4 separate regions of the Homo sapiens genome follow, and all the other regions are linked to region 3. The links are contacts of gene promoters, found by promoter capture Hi-C in blood cells and fetal thymus (Javierre and others, 2016). All regions are on one chromosome and are shown on one strand. Each heading gives the region's core, a stretch centred on a gene start or on the middle of the fragment in contact. The rest is flanking DNA. Distances are from core to core; before and after follow the strand shown.

Region 1 (5,444 bases), core at 580-3,079, 2.0 Mb after region 3:
ACAGGCATGAGCCTCATGTCTGGCGTTACTGAACCTTCTTCTATGACCCAAGTACATTGCCTAAAAATACTTGTCAGTATTTTGTGCTTCCCTTCTACCCCTGCTAGAACTTAGAGTTATGCTCTTTGAGAGTTCTGCTCTTTAAACTTCAAACAAGTTTAAAAAGTAAGGCCGGGCACAGTGGCAGCACTGCCGAGGCCGACGCAGGCTGATCATGAGGTCAGATCAAGACCATCCTGGCTCACACGGTGAAACCACATCTCTACTAAAAAATACAAAAACATTAGCCGGGCATGGCGGTGGGTGCCTGTAGTCACAGGCTGAGGCAGAAAGGGCATGAACCCGGGAGGTGGAGCTTGCAGCCAGCCGAGGTTGTGCCACTGCACTCCAGCCTGGGTGACAGCGATAACTGTCTCAAAAAATAAAAACCACCCAGGCTGAAGTGTGGTGGCACCATCACAGCTCCCTGCAGGCCTGAGCTCCCTAGATCAAAAGATCTTCCCATATAAGCCCCCCCTCACCCCACCCTTAGTAGCTGGCACCACAGGAGTGTCCCCGCCATGCTCCACTAATGTTTAGTAGAAATTGGGGTCTCATACATTGGCCAGCTTGGTCTGAAACTTAGGGGGAATCAAACATCCCTCCTTTAGTAGAGATGGGGCTTTACTGTCTTGCCCTGGGTGGCCTCCCTGGGATGATGGGTGTGAGCCACAGTGCCAGGCCTAAGTTCATATTTGGAAGGTTTTTTTGCTTCAGATGGTCTCGTGCTCTCGCTCAGGTTGGAGCGCAATGGCGCAATCTTGGTTCACTGCAACCTCTGCCAGCTTAAGCGATTCTCCTGCCCCCGCCTCCCAAGTAGCTGGGATTACAGGCATAAGCCACCACGCCTGGCTAATTTTTTGCATTTTTTAGAGATGGGATTTCTCCACGTTGGCCAGGCTGCTCTGGAACTCCTGACCCCAGGTGATCCACCCACCTCGGCCTCCCAAAGTGCTGGGATTATAGGCGTGAGCCACCACGTGGGGCCTTCAGTAGGTTCTTAGTTGCTGTTTGCCCTATCACTGGTTTCCGGGTCTGCTGGCCACTATCCCCTGTAAGTTTTCCTATCCCCTGTAGGTGTTCCAAACCCTTGCGGCTGCTTTGCCCACTCCACAGTATCTGAACTGAAGTAAGATCTCAAATTCAAGGGAGTTTTGTTTTGCTATTTGTACCCGCAATTCATAAAGCAGTTGTAGCCTCTGTCCCAATACCGCCACCACTGGTGGGGAGTCCGCCACGGTAACCAGTAAGACTTCTCTTTATATTTGACCTACCTGGGCCTCCTGTCATCTTTTCTACGGGCAGCTTGGGGATTGTTAGTTGAGGGTTTTTTGTTTTTGTGTTTTTTTTTTTGTTTTTTTTTTTTTTTAAAGAGATGGAGTCTCGCTCTGTCGCCAGACTGGAGTACAATGGCATGATCTTGGCTCACTGCAACTTCCACCTCCCAGGTTCAAGCGATTCTTTTGCCTCAGCCTCCCGAGTAGCTGGTATTATAGGCACCCACCACCATGCCCAGCTAATTTTTTTTGGATTTTTAGTACAGATGGCGTTTCCCCATGTTGGCCGGGCTGGTCTCACTAAACTCCTGACCTCAAGTGATCCACCCACCTTGGCCTCCCAAAATTCTGAGATTACAGGTTTGAGCCACTGCGCCCAGCCTTTAGTTGAGTTTCTTAAGCTTGTTTAGGGTTTAGCCTGTATGGCCAGCAGGGTGTAGGTGGGGGTGGTTTGTAAGCAGGGCTGTTTGCTTCAGAAGCAGCTGTGGAAACAGGACTGAATGCAGACATATAAAGAATATTGGGTAAATAACTTTTTAAAAAATTTAGAGATAGGATCCCACTATGTTGCCCAATCTGGTCTTGAAACCTAAACAATCTCTTATCCCAAAGTGCTGGGATTGCAGAAAGCTTAAGGCACAGTTTTACGTGGTAATGGTGGGCCATTTTTAGTTTCTTTTTTGTAGACGATCATGTCATCTAGGCTGGAATGTAGCGGTTCTGTCGAGCTAGGTGTAGCCTCCACTTCCTGGACTCAAGCATTTTTCCTCAGCTTCAGTAGCTGGGTCTATGCATGAATACCCCTTCTGGGGTAGATAGATAGTAGTACATAGAGTAGATAATTTTTTTGTGTTCAGGCGGCACCTTAAGGTTGGTGTAAAAATTCTTGGCCTTCTAAAGAGCTGGAATTAGACATGAGCTGTTGCACCTGGCCAATGGGACAATTATGTCTACAGGACTGAATCAGTATCTGATCTCTGGAGTTGTAAGGTCACTTTTTCTGAAACTGCCTCAGTCTCCTTGCAGGTTCTGGTCTGTAGATCTCCAGTGTGTGGGCTGAGCACAGCATGGGGACCTGATTTCCCACCGGGCAGTGACATAGTTTAAAGATTCTTAGTTCGAATTCCTAATAATGGGAATATAGGTTTCTGTGTATTGAAATGGGAATATGCATTTTTTTTTTTTTTAGAGTCTTGCTCTGTCACTAGGCTGGAGTGCAGTGGCACAATCTCGGCTCACTGCAACCTCCGCCTCCTGGGTTCAAGTGGTTCCCCTGCCTCAGCCTCCTGAGTAGCTGGGACTACAGGCGCCCTCCACCACGCCCTGCTAATTTTTTGTATTTTAGTAGAGACGGGGTTTCACCATGTTGGCCAGGATGGTCTTGATCTCCTCACCTTGTGATCCACCCGCCTTGGCCTCCCAAAGTGCTGGGATTACAAGCGTGAGCCTCTGCACCCAGCCAAGGGAATATGGATTCCTCTTTTTTTTTTTTTTTTTTTTTTTTTTGAGACGGCGTCTCTATCACCCAGGCTGGAGTGCAATGGCGTGATCTCTGCTCACTGCAACCTCTGTCTCCCGGGTTCAAGTGATTCTCCTGCCTCAGCCTCCCGAGTAGCTGGGATTACCCGCATGTGCTATCACGCCTGGTTAATTCTATATTTTTATTAGAGACAGGGTTTCTCCATGTTGGTCAGGCTGGTCTTGAACTCCCGACCTCAGGTGATCTGCCCTCCTTGGCCTCCCAAAGTGCTGGGATTACAGGTGTGAGCCACCACACCCTTTTTTTTTTTTTTTTTTTAAGATGGAGTCTCGCTCTGTCGCCCAGGCTGGAGTGCAGTAGTGCGATCTCGGTTCACTGCAACCTCTGCCTCCCAGGTGCAAGCGATTCTCCCGCCTCAGCCTCCCCAGCAGCTGGGACTATAGGTGCATGCCACCACACCCAGCTAATTTTTTGTATTTTTAGTAGAGATGGGGTTTCACTGTGTTAGCCAGGATGGTATTGATCTCTTGACCTAGTGATCCGCCCGCTTCGGCCTCCAAAGTGCTGGGATTACAGGCATGAGCCACCGTGCCCAGCCTAATTTTTGTATTTTTAGTAGGTTTCACCATGTTGGCCAGGCTGGTCTCGAACTCCTAACCTCAGCTGATCTGCCTGCCTTGGCCTCCGAAAGTATTTGGATTACAGGCATGAGTCACCGCATCTGGCGGTATTTTTGTTGAAAGCACAGTGTATAATAGGTTATGGCCAGCCTACACGTGGCCTTGTAGGTGTCAGTTCTTGGCAGGGCCCAGTGAATTCCAGGCAGGGGGCCATCCTGACATGCCTGCCACGTTAAGATTTCAGACATTATCCCCTCCAGCAAGGGAGGATCAGGGCTGTTGGCATAACAAGCATTCTGAGGGTTAGCTTGCATACCAGTCTCTTCCCAAATGCTGAGTTGCCCCATGTATCCTGTGACATTTGAGAATAGGCTTTCCTCAACTTGGCACAATTTGCCTTTGGACCAAGTGCTTTGTCCTGTGCATTCCTTGCTGGATGTTGGCATGCATTCCTAGTGTCGTCCACTAGATGGCAGTGGCACCCACCCCAGAGCTCAAATATTACTATGTTCCGATGCAGCCAGGGCTTGGCAGGGCTGGGTGGCCTCTGAGGGCCCCTACTGGCCATTTTTCACCGTCTCCCTCTGTTGCCCAGGCTGGGGCGCAGTGATGCAATGACAGCTCACTGCAGCCTCGACCTCCTGGGCTCAAGCGATCTTCCCACCTCAGTCCCCAGAGTAGCTGGGACTACAGGCATGTGCTGCTACTCCTGGGTAATTAATTGTACTAATTAATAGTAGTTGGCTAATTAGTAACAGTGGAGTCTTGCTATGTTGCTTAGGCTGGTCTCTAACTCCTAGACTTAAGCAACCCATCTTGCCTCCACCTTTGAAAGTACGGGGGTTACAGGCGTGAGACACCGCACCTGGCCCCTGTTGGGATTTACCCCTCCTGTTAGGGGCCATCAAACCTCTCTTAGTTGGTCATCCCTTAAAGCTCCGTCAAACTTTTTTTTTTTTTTTTTTTGAGATGGAGTCCCACTCTGTCGCCCAGGCTGGAGTGCAGTGGCGCGATCTCGGCTCACTGCAACCTCCACCTCCCGGGTTCAAGCGATTCTCCTGCCTCAGCCTCCTGAGTAGCTGGGACTACAGGTGCCCGCCACCATGCCTGGCTAATTTTTTTTTATTTTTAGTAGAGACAGGGTTTCACCATCTTGGCCAGGCTAATCTCAAACTCCTGACCTCGTGATCCACCTGCCTCGGCCTCTCGAAGTGCTAGGATTACATACATGAGCCACCACGCCTGGCCAGCTCTGTCAAACATTAATTTGATCCCAAGCAGAGGGACTTTTGATCTCAATCTGCATGAGTCTGTCTCTAGGAAGGAGGCTGATCATTATGCTGGGGGGGTGATGAGCACCCTCCCATCTTCCTCTGTCCAGATCTCAGGGGAGAGCCAGCAGATAGGACCATTCAGCAGCCAATGTCCAAATAAGGTTTTGTTACTCGAAGCGCTGCCAACCTACTGTGGGTCATTTTATTCAGGTCCATCCCAAATAACCTGTGGACACAAGAGTTGATATTATTCCAGTGTACTACTGTGGCATTCAATTAATAAGCCTTAAGTATCTATTGTGCACTACCGTGGTAAGATAATTCCATGATCCTCCAGAAATTCCACCCAACGCTGCTGGAAAGTAGGCTTACTACATGCTACATGCAAGTCCCCAAGCTGTGTTAACTGCATAATTTTTTTTTTTTTGAGACACAGTCTCATTCTGTCACCCAGGCTGGAGTGCAGTGGTGCAATCTCAGCTCACTGCAACCTCCACCTCCCAGGTTCAAGCGATTCTCCTGCCTCAGCCTCCCCAGTAGCTGGGACTACAGGCGCCCACCACCACGCCCGGCTAATTTTTTGTATTTTTAGTAGAGACAAGGTTTCACCCGTGTTAGCCAGGATGGTCCTAGTCTCCTAACCTCGTGATCCGCCCACCTCGGCCTCCCAAAGTGCTGGGATTACAGGTGTGAGCCACCACACCTGGCCAATTCATAATTTATCATAGCCTTATGAAGATGCAACTATGTTCTC
Region 2 (5,008 bases), core at 392-2,891, 1.8 Mb after region 3:
GAGACTAGCCTAGCCAAAATCCCTTCTCTACAAAAAATGCAAAAATTAGCTGGGTATGGTAGTGTGCACCTGTAGTCCCAGTTACTCAGGAGGCTTAGGTGAGAGGCTCACCTAGGCCCAGGAGGTTAAGGCTGCATTGAGCTATGATTTTGCCACTGCACTCCAGGCTGGGCCTAGGCCTTTGTAGTCACAGCTACTTGGGGGCAAATGTAGGAGGATCACTTGAGCCCAGTAGGTCGAGGCTGCAGTCAGCTGTGTTTTTTGAGACATAGCAAGACCCTGTCTCAAAAAGAAAAAAAAAAGTAGCTACAAGCTCATTTATGCAAAGGCTAACCACTGTCACAAGTAGAGATGTGCAGAACTGAGATTCAAATGGATGGAATGGCAAGAAAAACTGCCACTTCTGTGAACCTGAAGTCAAACTGCCCTTGTCGTCAAGATAAAAGGTATACATGGTGTGAGCCTGGGCATCTGAAAGGTGTTGCAGCTTTTTCTTTTATTTTTTTGAGATGGAGTCTCACTCCTGTCACCCAGGCTGGAGTGCAGTGGTGCGATCTCAGCTCACTGCAACCTCTGCCTCCTGGGTTCAAGCAATTCTCCTGCCTCAGCCTCCTGAGTAGCTGGGATTACAGGTGCCCACCACCACACCCAGCTAATTTTCGTATTTTTAGTAGAGATGGGGTTTCGCCATGTTGGCCAGGCTGGTCTCGAACTCCTGACCTCAGGTGATCCGCCTGCCTCAGCCTCCCAAAGTGCTGGGATTACAGGTGTGAGCCACCTGTAATTAGCCAGGCTTGGTGGTGGGTGCCTGTAATCCCAGCTACTGGGAAGGCTGAGGCAGGAGAATTGCTTGAACCTGAGAGGCGGAGGTTGCTGTGAGCCGAGATCGTGCCACTGCACTCCAGCCTGGGTGACAGAGTGAGACTCCATCTCTAAATAAATAAATAAATAAATAAAATGAGATGATTTCTGAGTGAGTTAACTAAATCAGGATATGCAGAACAATGCCAAGCATATATTAGCCACTAAAGAATATATAAGTTGCCTGAAAGCCCCTTTAGGGTTTAAACCTGGACTTCATTATTCACAATCACATTCCCGGTCCCCATTACGGAGCCTGGTCACCTGGGTGCTTGTTAGATATGGAAATCATCAGATCCCACCCCAGACCGAGTCAGAAACGTTGAGGGCAGGAGTTCAAGACCAGCCTGGCCAACATGGCGGAAACTCCGTCTCTACTAAAAATACAAAAATTAGTCAGGAGTGGTGGCACAGGCCTGTGATCTCAGCTACTCGGGAGGCTGAGACATGAGAATCCCTTGAACCTGGGAGGCAGAGGCTGCAGTGAGCCAAGATGGTGTCATTGCGCTCCAGCCTGGGTGACAGAGTGGGACTCTGTCTCAAAGAAAAAGAAAAAAAGAAAAGAAATTGCAGCTTCTGCTCAGGAAGTCTGGAGTGGGCCAGGATTCTGCATTTTAACAACTCCCAGGAGTGTTAGTGGGGCTGGTTTGTGGACTCGCCTTTGAGTCGTTGGTCTCCGCTCAATCAATATTAGATAAAATGACAGTATTGGGAGAAATCCAGGGGGCTCTGGAGGACCGAGGGATCATATTGGAGGCAGATAGGGCAGAGAAAGGTGGAGGAGGTGGGAGTCGGGTGTGGCTGTGGAGGAAGCTACTTAAATCCGGATTTGATCTTTGCTAGTTCTTATCCCTGGACCTGAACCCAGGCGCACATCTGGATTAGAAGATGCCAGGCTCAGAGGATCTTCGTAAAGGTAAGCCAGAAAAAATGAGAACCGAAGCAAAGACACGTGAAGAAGTGGAAAGCAGCTGGCGGCGGGAAAAGGCAGAGGGACCAGGCGGCCGAAGCTGGTGCTTCGTCCACGTGGGTGGCAGGGACTTCCCACAGAGGCTGTCATCGTTTTTGTTGTTGTTGTTTTGTTTTGTTTTGTTTGTCTTTTGAGACAGTCTCACTCTGTCGCTCAGGCTGGAGTGCAGTGGCACGATTTCGGCTCACTGCAACCTCCACCTCCCAGGTTCAAGCAATTCTCCTGCCTCAGCCTCCCGAGTAGCTGGGATGACAGGCACACGCCACCACACCTGGCTAATTTTTTTTTTTTTTGTATTTTTAGTAGAGCCGGGGGTTTCACCATATTGACCAGGCTGGTCTCGAACTCCTGACCTTGTGATCCGTCTGGCTCAGCCTCCCAAAGTGCTGGGGTGACAGGCGTGAGCCACTGCACCCGGCCCAAGTTTTGTATCTTTATAGAGATGGGGTTTCACCATGTTAGCTAGGTTGGTCTCAAGCCCCTGACCTCATGTGATTGGCTGGCCTCGGCCTCCCAAAGTGCTGGGATTACAGGCATGAGCCTCGGTGCCCGGCCGCGGCTGTCATCTGACAGCACAGGCAAATGCAGGGAAGCCTGTTTCTGCCTTCAAATCCGAAATCTTCTCCCTCGTAGTTGTGTCCTAATTCTTCCCACCCCGATGCTTGTTCTTGAGCACAGGGGAATCTGATTCCTATGAGGATGATTAGGTCCTAGATAGAATATAGGCTTAGCCAAGCTGGAAATCTCATGTTCATGAGCACTTACTAGACTCTGGAGCTGCTGCCAAACCATTTTCAGGCATGATGCGATTCAGATCTTTTAGAGCGAGGCATGCGGTGGCTCATGCCTGTAATCCCAGCACTTTGGGAGGCCGAGGTGGGCAGATCGCTTCAGCCCAGGAGTTCAAGACCAGCCTGGGCAACAAAACAAGACGTTGTCTCTACAAAAAATACAAAAATTAGCCGGGCATGTCAGTGTTGTGTAGTTCCAGCTACTCGGGAGGCTGAGGTGAGAGGATCGCTTGAGCCTGGGGAGGTTGAGGCTGAAGTGAGCTGTGATCATGCCACTGGGCAACACAGCAGTACACTGTCTCAAGAAAAAGAAAGTAAAAGGTGACATCCGTGACAGCAGTGATGTTATTTTTCTGCTTATTTCCTTGCTATATTCCTAAAAGAATATACTTAATGAACATTGAATAAATGATAAGAATAAAACCATGTCCATCCATTTCACCTTGGATTGAGTTGCCTATTTCTACACAAAGAAAATAGAACCCAAGAGGTAAGGCACAAGCGATCCCTTATTTACGTATTTATTTATTTATTTATTTATTATTTTCTTGAGACAGGGTCTCCCTCTGTCTCAGGCTGGAGTGCAGTGGCATAATCTCGGCTCACCACAGCCTCTGCCTCTGAGGTTCAAGCGATTCTCCTGCCTCAGCCTCCCGAGTAGCTGGGACTACAGGCGTGCACCATCACGCCCAGCTAATTTTTGTACTTTTAGTAGAGACAGGGTTTCACCATGTTAGCCAGAATGGTCTTGATCTCTTGACCTCATGATCCGCCCGCCTTGGCCTCCCAAAGTGCTGGGATTACAGGCATGAGCCACTGTGCCCGGCCAAATTTTTGTGTTTTTAATAGAGATGGGGTTTCACCATGCTGGCCAGGCTGGTCTCAAACTCATGACCTGATATGATCTGCCCGCCCTGGCCTCCCAAAGTGCTGGGATTACAGGCGTGAGCAAGGGATCCCATATTTAAATGATAACAGAAAAAAAGGATGGAGGAACCAAGGGGGAAAGGAACAACCTTTTCCTATGAAAATGACAAATGAGGCTTGGAAAAACAAGGACAAAAGGCAGATCAAGTTGTCCTCCCGCTTCAGCCTCCCACAGTACTGGGACTGCAGCCTGAGGCACGACCCCGGCCAGCAGTGTCTCCATATCTAAGAACCTCAGTCACGGCCGGGCACAGTGGCTCACGCATGTAATCCCAACACTTTGGGAGGCCGAGGCGGGTGGATCACCTGAGGTCAGGAGTTCGAGACCAGCCTAGCCAACATGGTGAAACCCTGTCTCTGCTAGAAATACAAAAATTATCCGGGCATGGTGGCGTGCGCCTGTAATCCCAGCTACTCGGGAGGCTGAGGCAGGAGAATCGCTTGAACTCAGGAGGTGGAGGTTGCAGTGAGCTGAGATTGTGCCACTGCACTCCAGCCTCGGTGACAGAACCTCAGTCACTTGATCATCACGTTGTACCTCAGTGGAAAGGAAAGGAAAGCTCAGGCTTTTGAGAATGGAGTTGTTAGCATTTCCCATTTGTGTCTTTTTCCTCCTCTTTCAAGGCAAGGACCAGATGCATTCACACAGGAAACGAACCATGTTCACTAAGAAGCAACTGGAAGATCTGAACATCTTGTTCAATGAGAACCCATACCCAAACCCCAGCCTTCAGAAAGAAATGGCCTCGAAAATAGACATACACCCAACAGTACTGCAGGTTGGAAAATGATCCCTCTTCTCACTAAACTGCCTTCCTGATCTAATCTAAATTCAGAGTCCCTCTAGGATAATTCCTGAGGTCTCATTCCAATCGCCAATATTCCCCAAACCCACACTCTCCTACTCACGTCCCCGTAAACCTTTCTTCAACCCCCTAGAGCAAGAATGGGAAAATTTTTCCAGTAAAGGACCAGGTAGTAAATAATTGAAGCTTTGTGGGCCATACCGTCTCTCTAGCAACTATTTTAACTATGCCACCACAGTGCGAAGGCAGCCACAGACAACGTAAACAAGAGGCCCATCTGTGTTCCCAGAAACTCTTTTACTCAGGTTGGAGCACGGTGGTGCAATCACAGCTCACTGCAGCCTCGACCTCCCGGGCTCAAGCAATCCTACCACCTCAGCACCCCAAGTAGCTGGGACTACAGGTCTACAGGTGCACACTACGCCTCCCAAAGTGTTGGGATTACAAGCATGAGCCCGGCTGTATTTTATTTTTTGTAGAGATGGGGTTTCGCTATATTGCCCAGGAGGCTGATCTTGAACTCCTGGTCTCAAGTGATTCACCTGCCTTGGCCTCCCAAAGTGTCAGGATTATAGGCATAAGCCACTGCGCCTGGCCTGAAGTTTATACAATTTTCACATTACAAAATAGTGTTGTTTTGTTTTGTTTTAAGA
Region 3 (5,378 bases), core at 2,581-5,080:
ACTCCAGCCTGGGTGACAAAGCAAGACTTTCTCTCAAAAAAAAAAAGGAAAGAATAAAAAAAGAAAAACCAAGGTTAGGATGCCAACAGATTCCATGTCTGATGAGGGCCCATTACTCATAGACAGCGCCTTCCATATGTCCTCACATGGTGGAAGACAGACAAGCTCCCTCAAGGCTTTCTTACAAAGGCACTAATCCTATTTATGAGGGTGCAACCATCACGCTCTAATCTCCTCCCTATGGTCCCGCCTTTTAATACCATAACCTAGGGGGTTAGGATTTCCCATACAAATCTGGGGAGGGGAGAAACAAACATTCAGACTGTAGCAGATGCAGCAATAGTAACTTTAGGAATGTGGAATTTATAAAGAGCACTCATTCTTCCCCATTCCCCACAGCCATCCAGTCTCCAAGGCTGGTCTACTCAGCCTGGACAATCTGTCTCTAAGCTACGCCTCTTCTTGATCACACTATTCCTGCCCTGGGTAGCTCTTCAAGAACCTTACCTTGATTTCTGGCAACATTCTCCATTCTAATATCTCTGTCTCCAATTAGAAACATTCTCAAAGGCATCCCTTTGCAGGACTACAGAACAATATTTTTCAGAAGCACACACCTGACAAGTCACTGTCCTGCTTAAATGGTTATTCATGTTATTATGAAGAAATTCCAAGTCCTTCTTGTAGCATTCAGGACCCTCCAACAGATGGCTTCTGCCACTTGCTACACACTCAGTGTTTATTGCTGTCTGCCTCACCATCTATGCTCCAATAACCGCAGGTAACCTGCTATTTTTTGACCCTTTCCTGCGTGCTTTCACTCTCCTCTGCCTGGAATGTATTTTTTTTTGCTTCTTTATCTGAGTCTTTAAGATTCATCCCGGATGTTATCTGCATTGCACTTGGAAGTGACCCTGGACCCTGTCAGTCTCAGTTAGTTGTTCCTTTTGGGAAATCTCATAATGAACCAGGCATCTGTCTATCACTATATACCCCCACTCTACTGTGACTGCTTAGGGAAATGGCAGAGGACACCATTGTGCACAAAGGGTGCATAAGACTATGCTTAGTCACAGTAGAGTGACGCTGTCACCTCTTTACCTGGGTAGTCGGCATCTCCAGGGTAAGGCACATGTCTGTTTAAGCTCTATGTCTGCAGGAGCCAGCAAGGGAGCACCTCTTCAGAGGCCTCATGCAATACCCACCACCCTTTATTATACTGATAAGTAAATTCCATTTTAATCAGGTGGCAGGTAGCAATGTGCCACTGTCCTAGGAAAGCAATCATGATTGGCCTAAGCCAATATGAGCAACTTGTCTTTTTTTTTTTTTTTTTTTTTTTTGAGGTAAGGTATTGCTCATTGCCCAGGCTCGAGGGCAGTGGCATCATCATGGCTCACTGCAGCCTCAACTTCCCTGACAAAGCAGTCCTCCCACTTCACCTCCTGAGTAGCTGGAACTACAGGTCCACACCACCACACCCAGCTAATATTTTTTTGGTTTTAGAGATGGGGTCTCACTATGTTGCCCAGGCTGGTCTTGAACTCCTGAGCTCAAGCAATCTTCCTGTCTTGGCCTCCCCAAATTCTGGCATTACAGGCGTGAGCCACTGTCCCTGACCTTTATTTTTATGTATCGGTATTTTTGTTATTTCTTGGCCATTGATTGGTCTAGAGATGGCATGCTCTGGCAATGAAAGACAAGGAGAGGTCCTGAAGAGACTCTGGACAAGGTTTCCCTCTGTAATAAAATGGAAGAGGCATGTGAATGAGTCACATTTTCTGCCTGTCTCATGATTCTGGCTCGGGAGGGCCTGTTGATGCAATGTCCAGAACAGTGGCAGCCATTCTGTGGTCACTTTCAAGAAAGCCCTAGAAGAAAACCAATATGATGATGGAGTGGAAGGGTGACATTAAACTCAATTTTTGTTCAAACTCCAGATCTATCCCCTTCCAAAACTTTTTTTAATAATAAATTTCTCCATGGCTTATGTGCTTCATTGGTTTACTCTACCTTATCACTGAAAACATCCAGTGAATCAGAGAGAAAATAGAAAATAGTTGACTCTTGTTTTGTGGCTCTCCACTGTTTTTCATGGTTCTATTCCTTGGGCTTGAGAACAACATTCTGATGGTGTTTAAAAACTCAGAAAGAGCCCATCTCCTTAGATCAGTAGTCCATAGAGCATCTCCCTAGGGGCAGAAGGTTAGGGGGTTAATCTCGGCAATGGTGTGGAGTGTACAGTGTCTCTCATTTACCTTCCTTACCTCTCTACATGCTCCTAGTTACTGCTTCTCTTTGTAACTCTGAGGTATGAAATACCTCAAAGCATATTTGATTTTGTCACAGATTTCTGGCACAGGGCTCTTAAAACCCTTGGAATTCCCTGAGTGATAGGAGTATTATTTGTTATTCATAAACAGCCCCTTTTGATCATAGCTGAGTTTATGCTAAGGAGATCATGGCCTTAGGATGGGACTGGTCACCAGAAAGACCAAGGGATTAGAGGGTTGGAGCTGTCAGCCCCACCTACTGATCTCCAGGAAGGGGAGGCAGGGACTGGAGATTGAGTTCCATAAAAACTCTTGAACAATGAGATTTGATGAGCTTCCACATTGGTGAACACTCAGGAGTGCTGGGAGAGTGGCTGCCTGAAGAGAGCATGGAAGCTCCATGCACCACCCAACCCCTTCCCTGCCATATACCTGCCATATGCCTCTTTCCAATGGACTATTCCTGAGGTATATTCCTTATATAAAGCAACAGATGCAAACAAAGTGCTTTCCTGAGTTCTGTGTGCCATTCTAGCAATTTATTGGTGTCATTGGAACACCCAATTTATAGCCTGTCAGTCAGAAGTACAAGTAGCCACCTGGGACTTGCAACAGATGTCTGATCTGATCTGAGAACAGTTTGTGGGAGTGAGCCCTTTAGCTTTTCGGATCTGAGCTGAATCCAGGTAGACAGCATCATAACCGAATTTTTAATTGCAGGTGGCCCAGGTGGTGTCCCCAGAGAATTGGAGAATTTCTTGGTGTAGAGAAAAAGTATATTTGGTCAGAAGGATTGTGAAAGTAGAGAATCGAGTTTTTGTTTCACCGTGCATCTTTGTTTTTTTATTGTTTTTCCTCTCATTCTTCTCACCTTGGTAATTGTTTCTTTCATTTTCCTGAATCTCTGAAAAGAAAGGGCCTGGACTCTCAGATTTCTTGGCCTTTGATATTTGGAAGGATGAACTCCAGTCTCCCACAGAAGGCTAGAGGTGAAGGAACATTCAGACACATAAGTTTCCAAGATAAATCGTCTGAGAACATCTCCAAGGTGTCTTCTGGGAATGGTAAGAAACCCTGAGTTTGTGTCACTGGATTGATTCCAGCTCCATTGTCCCCGTGTCCTTCAACTAAGTCTCTGCTGAAGCCTGTTCTATAAAAACAGCAAGTAAGTGGTTTGGACTGACCTATTGTACTAGGTTCGACAAAGCAAACCAAATGGAGTCAGTCATACTAAAACTCCACATCACCAAACCAAAACTAATGTATCTGAACTTTTGAGAAATCAGGAGAGAGAGAAAATGGACAAATTCCTAAAACAGGCCAGTTTCAGTGGGCATGAACATGAAGTTCTGTCTGCTTTCATCTTTACAAAAAAAAAAAAAAAGCAATCTGTGGTAACTTGACTTCAATCAATCAGTTGTTCCTTATTGCTGTCTCTCTATTCCTGCTGCACAAAAAAAATGCAACATCCAGATGACCAATCAGGTTTTTGTTCTCTGTTTCTGCTTTCTTTAGCCCTCCTATCCCTGTAAAACCAACTTCCTTGGCTCTAACTATCAAAACACTCATTTTGTTTTATAGCATGACAGGCTGTCTGATTCCATCTTTATAACCAAAGCCAATTAAGATCTTAAAACCAAACATATAACTTCATCTTTTTACAAGTACTTAGAGCCTGAGTTGCTCCACAGGAATCCAGGAACTGGGCACAGGAAAAGGATCTAAGCTGGTGGTAAGTTGGGGTCTGAAAATTTTAAAGTTATTGTTGAAATGCCTGCTATATGACAGAGCCCTTCTAACTCTGGAGTAGCGTAGTCCAGTGAAGAATCCACTTCGTTAGTATGAAAACAATGTTAACTATTTCATTAACAGTGTTTAATTTGGTTACATGTTCCAGTAACATTCTTTTTTTTTTTTTTTTTTTTTTTTTTTTTGATGGAGTCTTGCGCTGTCACCCAGGCTGGAGTGCAGTGGCACAATCTCAGCCCACTGCAACCTCTGCCTCCCAGGTTCAAGCGATTCTCCTGCCTCAGCCTCCTGAGTAGCTGGGATTACAGGCACCTGCCACCACGCCTGGCTAATTTTTTGTATTTTTAGTAGAGACGGGGTTTCAATATGTTGGCCAGGCTGGTCTTCAACTCCTGACCTCGTGATCTGCCCACCTCGGCCTCCCAAAGTGCTGGGATTACAGGCGTGAGCCAATGTGACTGGCCAATTCTTTATCATATATGTAATTAAATAAAATTTATTACTAAAATAATTTCCCCAAAGGTGTTTTACTTTTTTAAAAACAGTGGCTACAAAAAAATTTTGAGTCCCATATGTAGCTAAAGTTAACACATTATATTTCTACTGGACATGTAGCATTGTAGAGATGTAGCATTGAAGGATCTTGATAGTCCTGTGGAGCTTACGTACTAGTGTGGAGGGTATTTAAGAGAGAAGATAAATGAACAAACAAATAAAGGAGAAAAGTATCTGGTGAGATAGGCTGTACCTGAGCATTCTGCTTTGCAGAGTGGGTGAGGTGGGATCTCTCTGAAATAATATTTGACCTGAAATATGAATATTCAGGATGAGCCAGGTGCAGGAAGCTCAAGACGAAGAGCACGGTAGGCAGAAGGAATAGAGAAAGCAGAAGCCCTGAGATGACAAAGAGCTGCAAGTTCAAGGAATTAGAGCCCAGTGGGTGGAGCCCAGTGTGTCTGATGAGAGTGCAGAGATGAGGTCTGAGGGATGCACAGGGCACATGTGGCAGTGGATAAGGGAACCTAGGATAAGGGAACCTAAGATAAGGGTAACTTAGAAGTCTGGAAGCCATCGGAAGGTATTGCGAATAACATCACCATCTTATTGGACCTTTTTAAAGCTCATTTGGTTTCTGTCTGGAGAATGGATCTTAGGGGAGGGGGCAGCAGGACCAGGAAAAAGCTATTTGCAAGGCTTGTGCAAATATCCAAGCCTGACAGGGCCATGGACACCGGTCGTGGAGATGGCAATGGCTCTGGCTGTGCATTCAGCATGTTCTGTAGATAGAATGAGTAAGACGTGGATGGCGTTGGGTGGTGAGGAAAAGAGAAATGAAAGGTGAGTTCTAGATCTGGA
Region 4 (5,663 bases), core at 1,062-3,561, 1.9 Mb after region 3:
CCCTCTGGTGTGGAAAGATTGTTCCAACGCAAAAGGGACTGAGATCCAGAGATGGCAGTTGTTTGAGATCTGGAATCTTCAGAAGAGGTAGATCAGACTTGCTCAGGAAATAATGGGTCCTACCATCACAGCGGGTACGGATGGGGCTACAAGATGAGAGAGGCTGGATAGGAGAGTATTTAAGGAAAAAAAAAAGACAGAAAAGGACCAAAGGACAGTCTGTGAGACCCCAGAGAATGCATTAAACCTGAAGAATTTCTGAACAATGACGTCTGATATTCAGGCTTCCGTTGTTTCTTTTTGTGCTGTAATCTTCCGTGTTTTCTCTGCACATAGCTCAGTAAAGCTCTATTCACCAGTTAACCTAGAGTCTGTCTTGAGATAAGCAGGGAGGGCTGTGACGGCTGCACAAGGGCGGAGTGGTTTGTAGACCTGAAAAGGAACTTGTAAGAGCTGGCAGATCTTAACCAGGAGAGGGAGCCCCTTTCCACAGCCTAGAAGCTTCTGAAGTCATTTAAATGGAACTGAATTATATGAAGTCAAATGTCAGTTGGGGAAAAAGTCAAACTTTATTATTTATTTATTTATTTGTAATTGTGCGTATACATATATATATATATATATATATATATATATATATATATATATATAATTTTTTTTAAATTATGATCTCCGTGATAGTACCAAATCAAACTTTTTTTGGAGACAGAGTCTTGCTCTGTCACCCAGGCTGGAGTGCAGTGGCGTGATCTCGGCTCACTGCAACCTCCGCCTCCCAGGTTCAAGCAATTCTCCTGCCTCAGCCTCCTGAAGAGCTGGGATTACAGGCGCGTGCCACCATGCCCGGCTAATTTTTGTATTTTTAGTAGAGATAGGGTTTCACCATGTTGGCCAGGCTGGTCTTGAACTCCTGACCTCAGGTGATCCACCCGCCTTGGCCTCCTAAAGTGTTGGAATTACTGGCATGAGCGACCACGCTGGCCCAAACCCTGCTTTTTACTGGAGAGACGAGGTAGCCCTAAGTTAAAAAAAAAAAAAAAAAGACCCTGTTTCACTTCTTTTGGATATACCCGGGGTGACATTGCTAGATCATTCTGCAATTCCTCCTTTTTTTTTTTTTTTTTTTTGCTGGGGGTGGGATAGAGTCTCACTCCCAGGCTGGAGTGCAATGGTGTGATCTTGGCTCACTGCAACCTCCGCCTCCTGGGCTCAAACGACTCTCCTGCAGTGAGGAGCTGGGATTACAGGTGCCTGCCACCACAACCTGCTAATTTTTTTTTTATTTTTTGTATTTTTAGTACAGACGGGGTTTCACTATGTTGGCCAGGCTGGTCTTGAACTCCTGACCCCGTGATCCGCCCGCCACAGCCTCTCAAAGTGCTGGGATGACAGGCATGAGCCTCCGCGCCCAGTAGATCATTCTGTAATTCTGTGTTTAACTTTTTCCCCCCTAAACTTAACTGAAGTGATATTTAACTTTCTGAGGAATCACCAAATCAAAGGTGACTTTTGAGACAAATACAGGAAGTGGAGGTGGTTTTCCTCATGTAGATGAAGACATTCTAAACCCAGAACTGAAAACACACATGGAATCCTTTTAAGTATCAGGATGCCTTGGTGGACAAAATGGATACATCCAACTTCTCAAGGAGCTTAATATTCAGTATTAAAGCTGAGGTGAGCTCAGGTGATTCACGCCTGTAATCCCAACATTTTGGGAGGCCAAGGCAGGCGGATCACTTGAGCCCAGGAGTTTAAGACCAGCCTGGGCAACATAGTGAGACCCCTCCCCCCTGCCCCCGTCTCTACAAAAAATAAAAAAATTACAGACGCATGGTGTAGTCCCAGCTACTTGGCAGTCAAAGGTAGAAGGACTGTTTGAACCCAGGAGTGGGTTGAAGCTGCAGTGAGCCTTGATTGTACCAGTAAACTTTAGCTTGGGAGGCAGTTGAGACCCTGTCTCAAAAAAAAAAAGAAAGGAAGAATTTCTCTCTCCCAACTTCCCTTGGTTTCTCCTCGCCCCCCGGCTAAAAAGTGATTGGGGACCTTTTAAAAAACTTCCTGCTCTCCACAGAATGGGATTACAGCCCCGAGATGATCCATAAAAGATTTTCAGGAAGAATGAAGAGTTTAGGGAGTGAAGGTTCTAAAACAGTAAATAGAGTGTCACAAAGAAATCCATTCATCTCTTTGAAGGCTGGGTATTTGGAAAAAGAGAGAAAGAAAGCTTCATTCAGAGAGCGCTCGCCTGTATTTAGGGGTGTTTGGAGGGGGCGGGGTGACTATAGAATTAGGGTAAAGTTCAGTGTCTTGCAAATCAGCCCTGAAATAGCCCTGATCCCTGCAGGCCTGTCTGGTTTCCCAAACCCTCCACTAGCTTTCAAATTTGCATTAAAAAGCTTTTGGCTTGTTCATTCTGTTCTTTCTTTCTTTTCTTTCTTTTATTTATTTATTTTTTTTGAGACGGAGTCTGGCACTGTCACCCAGACTGGAGTGCAATGGCGCGATCTCCGCTCACTGCAGCCTCTACCTCCCGGGTTCAAGCAATTCTCCTGCCTCAGCCTCCCGAGTAGCTGGGATTACAGGCGCCCACCGCCACACCTGGCTTATTTTTTTAATTTTTAATAGAGATGGGGTTTCTCCATGTTGGCCAAGCTGTTCTCAAACTTCTGACCTGGTGATCCACCTGCCTCAGCCTCCCAAAGTGCTGGGATTACAGGCGTGAGCCACTGCGCCAGGCCCTCATTCTGTTACTTCTTTCTTTCTTTTTTCATTAATTTAAGTTCTGGGATACACATGCGGGATGTGCAGGTTTGCTACATAGGTAAATGCGTGCCGTGGTGGTTTGCTGAACCTATTGACCTAGGTATTAAGCCTCACAGCCATTAGCTATTTGTCCTGATGCCCTTCTGCCTCCTGCCCATTCTTTGTTATTTCTTCATATTCCAATTAATGTTCATTTTGAGGACCTGGCTCTGGCCAGGCAAGGTTCCAGTCTGGAGTCAAACTGAGGAAAGTATTACCTTTCACAAACACTTAGACCACGTTGGGAGGGGAGAATGATTGTCCTCCACATGCGTATGGGTGTGTTATAAACCCCAGGAAGGTAAATACTAAGCAAAGGCGTGCACAGATAATTATTGCAACTGATGATTCCACGTCAATTGTACTGTACTGTGAGTAGGTTTATAGGCTGCCGTGACAGGGGCCATCACCTGGGTACGAGGGTGCTGGCTTCCTCTTGAAGACGTGACTTTAAAATTGTGAGTTGAATAGATGCAAGGATATTGGCCCAGTGGAGGAACTTTGAGGGGAGGGGGCAGGGTATCCTGGTTGGGAGGAAATTACATACAGAAATTGGGGAGTGGTGACAACATTGACTCTTCCAGTAATTGTCTGGGTGTGGTAACTCAGGACTGTAATCCCAGCACTTTGGGAGGCTGAGATGGGAGGATTGCTTGAGCTTGGGAGTTCCAGATCAGCCTAGGTAACACGAGGAGATCTAAAATTGAAAAAAAACGTAGCTGGGTGTGGTGGCTCATTCCTATAATCCCAACAACTTTGACTCAGGAGGCTGAAGTGGGAGGATCCCTTAAGGTCAGGAGGTTGAGGCTGAAGTGAGCTAGCACTTTGGGAGGCCGAGGTATGTGGATTACTTGAGGCCAGGAGTTCGAGACCAGGCTGGCTAACATGGTGAAACCCCATCTCTACTAAAAATAAAAAAATTAGCCAGGCATGGTGGTGCGCGCCTGTAATCCCAGTGACTCGGGAGGCTGAGGCAGGTGAATCACTTGACCCCTGGAGGCAGAGGCTGCAGTGAGCCAAGATCATACCACTGCACTCTAGCCTGGACAACCAGAGTGAAACTCTGTCTCAAAAAAACAATAATAATTTTAAAAAAATTTTTTAAATAAAAAAATTAACAAATGACCCGCACATCTGGGGTGAAGTAAGACGAGGCTGGCAGCATAGCTCTGTCACCTGTGGTTAGGATTAATTAAGCTCAGCTTTAAAGGCTGGATCTTGGCCTCCTGGGTTTTAATTTTGACTTCTCCACTTCTCAGCCATGTTTTGTTTTGTTTTGTTTGCTTGAGGAGGGACAAATCAGGCCAGCATTGAGCCTCTTTCCCCCGTGTGTCAACTGAGATTGATAATTACAAGATTAAATGATGCTTGTCTGTGATTTTAGCATCTGTTCAGCCCATCATTCATTTCAAGAGTATTGACTGGGCTTCAGGGTAGGTTCCATGTTAGTACTGGGGACGCCGTGGGTGGGAGGGAGACTGGGTCTCCACCCTCCTAGAGTTATAGTCTAGGCCTGCGGTTAAGCAGATTTTTGTGCAGGAATCAAACCCACTACACTACCTGTCAGAAATCAAGCCCTGTTCCAGGCACTGGGAAACTCAGAATTTAAAGGGGATGTACCAGGTCTCTGTCCTTGCGGAGCATTATCGATCAGTAGAAGAGAGAAAATAAACAAGCAAACACCTGAGACAATTGTAATAGCAATAATGTGATATCAATAAAATGAAACAGAGCAACAGAAATAGGGTAGATGGGCCGGGCGCGGTGGCTCACCCCTGTAATCCCAGCACTTTGGGAGGCCGAGGTGGGCGGATCACGAGGTCAGGAGATCGAGACCATCCTGGCTAACACGGTGAAACCCCGTCTCTACTAAAAATACAAAACATTAGCCGGGCGTGGTGGCGGGCGCCCGTAGTCCCAGCTACTCGGGAGGCTGAGGCAGGAGAATGGCGTGAAGCCGGGAGGCGGAGCTTGCAGTGAGCCGAGATGGCGCCACTGCACTCAAGCCTGGGCAACAGAGTGAGACTGTCTCAACAAAAAAAGAAAAGAAAAGAAACAGAGTAGATGGTCTTAGAAATGACAAGGAATCCCAATGAGAGGTTCTACCTGGGACAAAATAGAAAAATGGGAAATCATAATAAGCTCTGGAATTGGGGCAGTGGTATTGTTTATTTCCTAGTTGTGGCAAATCTAATGTAAAATATGGACATTAAAGAAAACTGGGTGGAGAACATAGAGAACTTTCTGTACTTTTTGCAACTTTTCTGTAAGTCTAAATTTATTCGAAGGCCGGGCGCAGAGGCTCCTGCCTGTAATCCCAAAACGTTAGGAGGCTGAAGCAGGTAGATCACTTGAGCTTGGTAGTTTGAGACCAGCCTGGGCAAAAAAGTGAGACTTCATCTCCATTAAAAATTTAAAAAATTAGCTGGCTTTGCTGGTGAGCACCTGCACCAGACTGGTTAGCCTGGGCAGCATAGTGAGACCCCGTTTCTATAAATAAGATAAAAATCAGCTGGGTGCCAGGCGTGATGGCTCATGCCTGTAATCCCAGTGCTTCGGGAGGCCGAGGGGGGCGGATCACCTGAGGTCGAGAGTTTGAGACCAGCCTGACCAACATGGAGAAACCCCGTCTCTACTAAAAGTACAAAAATTAGCTGGGCGTGGTGGCACGCGCCTGTAATTCCAGGTACTAGGGAGGCTGAGGCAGGAGAATCACTTGAACCTGGGAGGCGGAGGTTGCAGTGAGCTGAGATCACTCCACTGCCCCCCAGCATGGCTACAGAGCAAGACTCCGTAGCGGGATATTGCATGCATGTAATCCCAGCTACTCTGGAGACTGAGGCAGGAGAATCATTTGA

What was found. The method cuts DNA at HindIII sites, captures the fragments that hold promoters and counts their contacts. A CHiCAGO score of 5 or more calls a contact.
Region 1: a contact is called between a fragment that was not itself captured here and the fragment with the promoter of FPR3 in region 3, in 4 of 17 cell types (total CD4 T cells, naive CD8 T cells, non-activated CD4 T cells and 1 more). The highest score is 7.1, in total CD4 T cells.
Region 2: the fragment with the promoter of DPRX here is called in contact with the fragment with the promoter of FPR3 in region 3 in 5 of 17 cell types (naive CD8 T cells, total CD4 T cells, total B cells and 2 more); the score reaches 11.1 in naive CD8 T cells.
Region 4: a fragment that was not itself captured here is called in contact with the fragment with the promoter of FPR3 in region 3 in 9 of 17 cell types (naive CD8 T cells, non-activated CD4 T cells, fetal thymus and 6 more); the score reaches 13.5 in naive CD8 T cells.

Annotation. Positions count from the first base shown.
Region 1 is chr19:53,789,221-53,794,664 of GRCh38, forward strand. It overlaps NLRP12 (NLR family pyrin domain containing 12), which reads right to left. Exons shown (of 10, transcript NM_144687.4): 10 at 4,521-4,916. The coding sequence ends at 4,829. Among named protein-coding and RNA genes, the nearest start is that of MIR373, 3.2 kb to the left of the region's middle. RefSeq lists enhancers at 2,926-3,426, 3,427-3,927. The HindIII fragment of the contact is 229 bases long and covers 1,716-1,944 here.
Region 2 is chr19:53,630,358-53,635,365 of GRCh38, forward strand. DPRX (divergent-paired related homeobox) reads left to right here and starts at 1,642. Exons shown (of 3, transcript NM_001012728.2): 1 at 1,642-1,777; 2 at 4,174-4,328. The coding sequence starts at 1,750. The HindIII fragment of the contact is 17,175 bases long and covers 1-4,539 here.
Region 3 is chr19:51,791,327-51,796,704 of GRCh38, forward strand. It overlaps FPR3 (formyl peptide receptor 3), which reads left to right and starts at 3,831. Exons shown (of 2, transcript NM_002030.5): 1 at 3,831-4,005. The HindIII fragment of the contact is 12,110 bases long and covers 1-5,378 here.
Region 4 is chr19:53,659,056-53,664,718 of GRCh38, forward strand. All of the region lies in intron 2 of LOC107985342 (a long non-coding RNA gene), which reads left to right. Among named protein-coding and RNA genes, the nearest start is that of MIR512-1, 4.8 kb to the right of the region's middle. RefSeq lists enhancers at 1,286-2,175, 2,176-3,065, 5,658-5,663. The HindIII fragment of the contact is 172 bases long and covers 2,226-2,397 here.